Linked DNA regions of Homo sapiens: regions 1 and 3 are each linked to region 2. Evidence: promoter capture Hi-C in 16 types of primary human blood cells and fetal thymus (Javierre and others, 2016). All regions are on one chromosome and are shown on one strand. Each heading gives the region's core, a stretch centred on a gene start or on the middle of the fragment in contact. The rest is flanking DNA. Distances are from core to core; before and after follow the strand shown.

Region 1 (2,804 bases), core at 101-2,600, 210 kb after region 2:
TCCTGGGTAACCACCAAACTTCACACTCATACAATGGGCCCCAGTAAAACAGTGGGCCCTAATAAACACATTCCTTCCCCTTTAGGTACACTAAGATAGGGAAGCTAAAAGCAGACTCAGGGGGTATGCCTGCAGCTGCAGGAAGACGTATGGGATTAGACACAAAACTCTCCCTCCCAGGTAAGCAAGACAAAGAGACACAGAAACATTCTGAGCCTGTGATAAGCTGTACCGCCCTGAATCCTTAAAAACTCTTAGTCGGTAAAAGAGAGTGCCTCTGACCTAACTCAGCCAGAAGCCCTTCTCAGGTTTAGTCTCCAAAATAAACCTATCTTTAACTGTTCAGCTGTTTTTTGTGTTTCCTTCTTCTTTCTTTAATTCTTATAATGCGTGAGAGAGGGGAGCATCTGCAGTGGCTCCCAGAGCCCCGACTCAAGCAGCAGGGACTTGGGGGTGTCATGGCAGAGAGCTGGTGAGATGAACCGTCAGGGCTTGGGGGCAGGTCTGGGCTGGAGAGGGAGGGGTAGGGAGTTTCACAAAGCCTACTGGGGTTGTACTCAGGGGAGGTGGATGTGTTCACCAAGGGGAAACAGAAGGCCCCAGTGGGAGGGGTGGGGAACACACAATCTTAAGCTTAATTGTGGGCTGGGGAATGGCTGAGATGGCCTGGCCAGGGAGGTAGGAGGAGAAGGAGCTGCACATTGGTGACAGCAGTGGTGAGAATTTTATCAGGGATGGGTGGGAGGGGCAGACTGCAGGGGGCAGCGGGGTGAGGGGGAGTGGGACTCATTGGGATGTCTTCAGTCCTCTCCTGTCGGAGCTCTGGGCCTCCACTTCTGTCCTGAGCAAGCAGCAAGCCCACCTTCATCACGACCCCAGAGGGAAGGTTTTTTTCCTACCTGTACCATTTCCTTGGGTGGGGCCAATAGCCAGATTCTGTGGAGAATCTGGCATCTGGCATCTGGAATGGAGAAAGCCACCATTTTCTACCACCATGCGGAGGAGTATGGCTGCTCTGCCTCTTTGGCTAAATCCATGGAAAGCTGCTGAGGTGGGGACTGCTGTGATTTCTCCTCCCTTCTCCAGTCGAGCTCCTGACCAGGCGTTGAATCTCTCAGGCCCTGAACCCTTCCTGTCCATCCTGGCAGCCCTCAGCCACCCAGGTGTCCTGGCCAACATCCAAGGGGGATGCTGAGCCTGGTGGTATGAGGAGCTCAGCTGGGCTGTGAGAGAGAGCTGTGCTTCAAGGTGGCAGGATCACCGATTAAAGCAACAATAGACCAAACTGAAAGAATGAATCAAGCCTTTAATCACAGACAGCAGTGATAGAGGCAAGAGTCTAAACCAGAGAATGCACCAACTCTTCTTGTTTCATTTCCTGCCACCCCTCTGGAACAGTGCACACTGCTGGAGGGTCAGGTGGCTCATGGATCAACACAGACATAGGGGTCGGGGTCCTCTCACTGAGGAGGGAGCCCTGAACAAAAGGCTCAGGCAGTTCCACAGACCCTGGGAAGGGTGGGGGCATGAGAAGGGCTAGGAGTGGAAAAGAACTGAGTACTGAGTCAGAGTGGGGAAACGTGTCTTCAAGGTTCCTCCTCCTGCCCCCCGCAAGGTGGTCTCAGCAGAGGCATCTGTGGAAGACCTCTGTCCAAGGCCTCAGAAAACGAGGCCTAGAAATAAATGTAACTGGGATAGAAATGCAAATATGCATAGCGCATGACTGGCCAGAAAGGTGGGGTCCTTGACCACAACCGAGTGTGAAGAGGGTGGAGTCTCCCAGTGAGGCCTGCCAGGAAAAGCCTTTGCAACTGCCTGTGATCGAACCTGAAAAGCCACACCTAGGTTTTTAACCATGTGCTGGACTCCTCAGATAGTTCTACCCATGGATCTACCGCTTCCTAGGAAGGTCACCTGGCATGGAGGCCTGATGCCACAATCTTGGACCCTAGGATACAGGGGTACACTGAGGACTTGAAGCGGGGGCTTCAGAACCCCAGGAAGAGAGGTGCATCTTCCTTCACAAGCCCCTGGCATGGTGCTGTTTAGACTCCAAGATGGCTGGCTTTAAGCTTAAAGGGATATAAATTATGGGTATCTGATACAAGCTACAGAGGAGGAGAAACTCAGAGGGGAGACCCCAGAGTGTCAGCCTGGGGTTGGCCTCCCCTGCCCTCAGCCCCAGGATCCTGCACCTCTCCCTTACTCTCCAGATAAGAAACAGGTATGTTCCTGCCTCTGGGGCTCTCTCCTGGGGACCCTTCTCTACTGGTCACAGTCAGAGGCAGTGTCATTCATTGGGAGCTATATTTCATGTGATATCTCTGACCTAGAGATGTGTTCCTACTTTCCTGCATCTGGAACATCTGATGCTCTGAGAGCAACTGTGGGTCCTTGGGTCTCTGAGGAGGTTAGCTTTGCCCCAGGTCCTCTCTTCCAGGTTTTTCTTTTCTTTTCTTTTCTTTCTTTCTTTTTTTTTTTTTTTTTTTTTTTTTTGAGATGGAGTCTCGCTCTGTCACCCAGGCTGGGGTGCAGTGGCACAATCTCGGCTCACTGCAACTTCCACCTCCCAGGTTCAAGCGATTCTCCTGCCTTGGCCTCCCTAGTAGCTGGGATTACAGGCACCTGCCTCTACACCTGGCTAATTTTTGTATTTTTAGTAGAGATGGAGTTTCACCATGTTGGCCAGGCTGGTCTAGAACTGCTGACCTCAGGTGATCCACCCACCTCGGCCTCCCAAAGTGCTAGGATTACAGGCATGAGCCACTGCGCCCAGCCTTCTTCCAAGTTTTGACAGGGCTTAT
Region 2 (3,006 bases), core at 480-2,979:
GACCCGAGGCATCCCCCACTCACAGAAGACGCTGACGTCGGCGGCAGCCTCCCTGTGGCCGAAGGGGCTGCGGACGCGGCAAGTGTACCGGGCGTGGTCGCTGCGCACAGGGCGCACGATGAGCAGCTGGTCGCCCTCTGAGCGCATCCGGGGCGTCTCGGCTCCCTCCGATTCCGCCGCCTCCAGGGCGCGTCCGTCCCGGCTCCAGCTCAGCTCCCCGCGACCTGGCCCCCACCCCAGGCAGCGCAGCCGGAGCTCGGCCGCCCCCTCCTCTGTCTCTGGAGCCTTGGGCTGAACCGACAGCTGGGGTAGGGGCTCTGGGAGAGGGAGAATGGGCTCAGGACCCACCCAGTCCTGGAGCCCATCTTTGGTCCCCTTAGAGGGAACCCCAGCCGCTGCTCCCTCTAAGCCCCTGGAGTCTCAGCCCCCATCCCTCTCCTCTCATAAACCTATGAGTTTGAGCCCCCAGACACCTCCTCTCCGGGACCCAGGAGTTCGCCAGAAGAGGCTCCTAGCCTCCTCCTCCTCCCTCAGACCTGGGAGTTCAGGCTCCCAGGAGTCTCCATCCCAGGTCCACCTTTGCTCAGACACCCCTGCCTTGACCTCTAGCTCTTTTTCTCCCTTCCTCAACCCAGAAGTCCTCTTCTCCTATCCAGGGACCCCACAGCACCGTGACTTGCCCAAAGCCTGGCAGAGCAGAGCAGCCCCTGCCGCCTGCACGCCGGACGCCAGGGCCCACTTACCATACACACCCACCGTGAACTCGTGAGTCTGCTGGGAGACCCCTGCCCGGATGACCTCAGCCGTGTAGACCCCTGCATCGTCCAGCTGGGCAGAGGCGAGCTCCAGAACCCCCCGGGCCTGGTCAAATCGCAGGTGGTCTCGGTGAGCAGGGTCCAGGCTGATCAGAGGTGCCCCTGGCCCCAGGCCCCCAGCTGCCAGCACCTTTGAGCCCCGGCGCCAGACCACCAGAGAGGTGGGGGGCCCAGGGTTGGGGATTGGGACTAGGGGGAGCCGGATGGTGGTCCCCACCAGCACAGCGAGTGGGCCCCCCACCTGCTGGGGAAAGCTTGCAGCTGAGTGGGTCTCTGCAGAAAATTTGGATTCAGGGCTCTGGGCAGAGAGTTTAAGATCCATATCATCCGGGGAGAATTTTGAATCTGGGGCCTCAACAGACAGTTTGGTATGGGAGACTTGAGTAGAAATGTTTGAAGCTGGGGTCTTAACAGTGAAGGAAGGCTTGGGGTCTTTGGCAGGAACTTGAGGATCCGAAATATCAGGAAATACTTCAGAACCAGGGGTTTCAGAGAAGGGGGAAACCGGGCTCAAATCTTGGCCCTCAGCAGAAACATTTGACCAGAAGGACCCAGACATGTTGGAACTCAGGGCCTCAGGAAACCAGCTGGAATCAGAGATTCCAGCAGAGGCTTTTGAATCCAGGAACTGATCTGGAACTTTCCAGCTGGGAGGTTTGATGGAGGGAACTTCCACACCCAGCCCCTGGGAAGAGCTCTTTGAGTCTGAAGAGAAGGCAGAGGAGAAGTTGGTTTGCTGAAGTCCAGAAGAGGCTCTGAGGGTGAGGATCCCTACCAAGGAGGCTGCAGAGAAGAGAGGAAGGCATTGGGGGAGGCTGCTGAGGGAGACTGACAGGGAAGGGACTGAGCAGGGAACTTACCCAGGAGTAGGAAGAGTGGCAGAGCCTGTGGGTTGTCCATGGTGCTGGCCTCACTGAAAGGACACTGGAGAGAGACCCAGGACTGCACCCATCCCTCCCGGGTCAGACGAGTCCAACAGGACTGGTAGCTTAGCTTCCTGGGAGGGGAAGGGAGCCAGACCCAGAGGGAGGTGCCAAGATCCTCAACCCCAGTGTGGTGGCTGAGCTGCCCACCTCATCCCACTCTCTTCATTAGCTGGTCCCATCTGCAGAGAGGCCCAGCCTGATCCCTGCCCTCCCCACCCCCAGGGGGAAGCTGGAGAAAACATTCCCAGCTAAAAATGTGGGAGCAAATTTGTGAGACAAAGCCAGGAAGACTTCCTGGAGGAGGGTGAGGTGACCTTTCCGAGAGCCCCACCTCTGATGGCCACAGCTTCAGAGCAGGCTTCCTCCTCCCCAGCCTCCTGGCTCCTTCCACTCTGTCTTGCCTGCAGCCTCAGATACATCTGACCCTGCTCCTCCTCTGCTCCAAACCCTCCCACGGCTCTCTGTTGCCCTCAGAACCAAGTCTCCAGGTGCTATCTCCTGCCAGGGCCTCTATCCTGAGACCAGAGCTGCATTTCCGCATCCCCGAGGCCCTCACATGGCCTGTGTCCCGCTAAACTCAGACTCTTTCCTCTAACCCAAACTTCCTCACACCTCCAGGATGGCTTCACTGTCTTCGCAAATGCTGGAGAACATTCCCACCTCCTCCCTCCCTGTCACCACTGTCGATCTGAGTCCAACCCTCCTCCCCCTAGTTCTCACTGGCCAGGCTCTGTCTTCTCTTCCTGCCCCGTCTCCCTCCTCTGCCCAGTCTCCTCCATTCCCTGCCAGGGTCCTTCTATACCCAGAGCTGAACCTGCCTCCCCCTGCTCACAGCCCTCCCCTGGCTCCCCAGTGCCCTCTGGAGACATCCAAGGTTCAAAGCAAACTCATGCACAGCCCCCACTCAAGCACTTGAACATCCTGCCATTCTTATCCTGCCCGCCCATCTCACCTCCCAGTCCTCTACCTGGAATGCTCTCTCCCACTCTCCACCTCCCTCCAACCTGGCTAAACCACAACTTGTCCTTCAGGTCTCACCTTATTAAGAACCATAATTACCACTTAATTTGAGCCAGGAACTACGCTAAATGTTTCCTATGCACTATCAGGCTGAACACTTCTAAACACCCTATAAGCTGAGTGTCATTATACTCACTTTGCAGGCCAGGGGACTTAGGCTCAGAGAGGTCAAGGGACCTGCAGGAGGTTGCACAGCCAGAGGGAGAAGCTGGACTTGGGACCAGGATGGTCAGACCATTGACTCC
Region 3 (2,700 bases), core at 104-2,603, 230 kb before region 2:
TAATCCCTTCATTCCTGAATCCTCCCACACTAGCCCCAGATTTAACCTTGTCTCTCCCCTTCTCGAAACTCTTCCATGGCTCCCCATTGCCATCAGGCTTTCCATTGTCAAACCTCTGCAGACTGCAACGGAGGTGCTGCATGATCTGGTCCCTGCACACCCTTCCAGCCTCAGAATGCCTTGCCATCTCCAGGTCATCTAGCTGCCATCCTAAGCAATCCGCGTCTGGTGGAAGATATGGTGGCTGGGCTCAGCTGTCTCTCTCCAGCTCTGGGAGCTTTGGTTCCTGCAGCATCAATGTGCATCTCTGAGGGCCATTTCCTATATCTGGTGCTTGTTACTGGCAGCACTTGCTTCCCCACCCCTCGAAGGGCTAGAAGCTTCCCTGGGTAGAATTTCTGCATGAAGAGAGTTCGTTCACCCGTGGAGCCTACTGAGGAACGGGATTTTTGTCTGTGGTTGGTTGGTTTGTCTGTTTTCATTGTAGTGTATCAAACAGTCCTTATTTTGCCCTAAGTCCAGCTCTGTCCCACTGCCTTCTTGTTAGTTTTTGCATCTCCTTACTAAATGGTAGGTCTGCCTGGGTTCCCACAGCAGTGCTAATAAACTTTGTTGGCCAGAGGAGGCACCAGGAAAGACTCTCTGTTGGCAACACTCTCTGAAGGGCCCTCTGTTTCTCTTTGGCCTTGTCTCTCGTTCTCCTCATCCCAGGAGCCTTTTATGTGAGTTTCCACAGCTCCTCCTCGCACCCTCTCTTCTCTCTGCACTTCTCGTGGCTCCCCCCGATGTCTTGCACACCATGCTGTTCATCCCAATCTGCTCTGAGCCCCAGACAACCACATTTCCCCCCTTCTCAGTGATGGAACCATCATCATTATCCAAATTAGGATTCTAGGAGTCAGATAGATATTTCTCTATCACCTACCATATCCTGTTTGCAAGATGTCTTGCAAACTTCCCTTCCTGGAATAGGCTCACTTCACTCCCCCTTCAACATCCCCATGGCCTCTGCTCCTAGTCATTTCATCCTCTTCCTCTTCTGCTCAGACCTCCACTCTGTTTTCCTCTCCAACTTCTTGGCCTCCACTCTCCTCCTCTCCCTAAAGTCTCCCTCACATCACCCCAGAGGGATACCTTCTCCCACCAAGAGCTGACTCTGCCCCTCCCCCTTGCTCTTAATCCTTCCATGGCTCCCCAGTGCCCTCAATATAAAGTCAAGACTTTTTTTGATATGTAAGCCTGCAAGATACGGCTTGCAACTATTCTTCCAGAGTCATCATGCCTTGATACCTACCTCTGGGGTCATTTAGCTGACTACCTGCCCCACATTTGGACGTCTCTGAACATTTGTCACCTGGTAGCCCAATCCTTAAGAGGGGAGAAACAGGCCTGCCAGTCTTGCCCTTCCCCTTTATCTGTTTGTGCTCAGCTCTGGGGCCCTGGAAAATGCTCCTCACTCCTCATTCCCAGGGCAAGTCTCCATCTAACATGTAGTAATAGGTGAAGACATTTTTGTCTATTTTGTTCAACAAGAATCATACCTGACATATAATAAACTCTCAATATATGTATTCAAAAATTAAAAAATAAAGCTGTTACTTGTGAAATCTCTGCCTGTAGCCCAGGTCTTTGTTCTGACCCCAGCACCCTCCTAATGGCCCCGTTGTCTGTGAAGGCATTTTCAATGCTCTCCACTGTGCTAGATGGTGAGCCCATAGGGACAGAAATTGGGTTTGTTCTGACTCCTAGAGTGACTTGGTAAATATTGTTGATATAGGATAAGGCTCAGAGAAACCTCTGTCTCAGTTTGATAGGACCCCGAGAAACAAAACTGGCAAGTTGGAGAATCTAGCTCCTTTACAGCCAGCAGCAAGTGAGGCTACTCTTTGTCCTGGAGGGAGACATTACCCCATCCCTCAGGGTGGCTCCCTGCAAACACAACCTGAGAACTAGGCCAGGTAACGAGATCTCAGACCATCATGTTTTGGGCAATACCCAACGAGATGTGTAGGAGGACGGGAGGCTCATGGAGATCTGTCCTTCCCAACAGGCTGCCCTACTCTTCTTAGATGATGTGGGAAACTGCAAAATCCTCTCATCAAATTCTCTTTTACCAGCATACACAAAGATTCCATCACTTGTGATCGACGTCTTAGTCAGTAAGTCTGGACCATTTTGACTGGTTTCCAGTCAGAAAACCAGGAGGATGTGGTGAACAGAGAAACCCCAGTACTCACATTTCACTATTCTTTGCTTTCTCTCTTCATGCTTTGTTTGAAGAAGTTGCAAAATGAGATGACTGGAAGAAAGGGACATGATAGCTAAATAAAGCTTCCTTTTCTTGGTCAGGCACTATAAATCTATTGCACTTTCTCCTGTCTAACAGAAGTCAAACTTTTCTTTTTTTTGAGATGGAGTTTCACTCTTGTTGCCCAGGCTGGAGTGCAATGGTACCATCTCAGCTCACTGCAACCTCTGCCTCCTGGGTTCAAGCGATTCTCCTGCCTCAGCCTCCTGAGTAGCTGGGATTACAGGCGCCCGCCACCACACCCAGCTGATTTTTGTATTTTTAATAGAGACGGGGTTTTACCATGTTGGCCAGGCTAGTCTCGAACTCCTGACCTCAGGTGATCCGCCTGGCTTGCCCTCTCAAAGTGCTAGGATTACAGGCATGAGCCACAACACCTGACCTTACTATTG

Evidence for each region. Contacts are between HindIII fragments. The CHiCAGO score rates a contact against its expected background, and 5 or more counts as called.
Region 1: a contact is called between a fragment that was not itself captured here and the fragment with the promoter of VSIG10L in region 2, in 1 of 17 cell types (total B cells). The highest score is 5.8, in total B cells.
Region 3: a fragment that was not itself captured here is called in contact with the fragment with the promoter of VSIG10L in region 2 in 1 of 17 cell types (fetal thymus); the score reaches 5.0 in fetal thymus.

Annotation. Positions count from the first base shown.
Region 1 is chr19:51,547,982-51,550,785 of GRCh38, forward strand. No RefSeq gene overlaps it. Among named protein-coding and RNA genes, the nearest start is that of SIGLEC6, 18 kb to the left of the region's middle. The HindIII fragment of the contact is 1,439 bases long and covers 632-2,070 here.
Region 2 is chr19:51,340,410-51,343,415 of GRCh38, forward strand. It overlaps VSIG10L (V-set and immunoglobulin domain containing 10 like), which reads right to left and starts at 1,730. Exons shown (of 10, transcript NM_001163922.3): 1 at 1,676-1,730; 2 at 744-1,598; 3 at 24-317. The coding sequence starts at 1,715. VSIG10L-AS1 (VSIG10L antisense RNA 1) reads left to right here. Exons shown (of 5, transcript NR_186316.1): 1 at 1-308; 2 at 657-765; 3 at 1,441-1,576. The HindIII fragment of the contact is 2,004 bases long and covers 1,068-3,006 here.
Region 3 is chr19:51,112,319-51,115,018 of GRCh38, forward strand. No RefSeq gene overlaps it. Among named protein-coding and RNA genes, the nearest start is that of CTU1, 5.3 kb to the left of the region's middle. The HindIII fragment of the contact is 1,951 bases long and covers 379-2,329 here.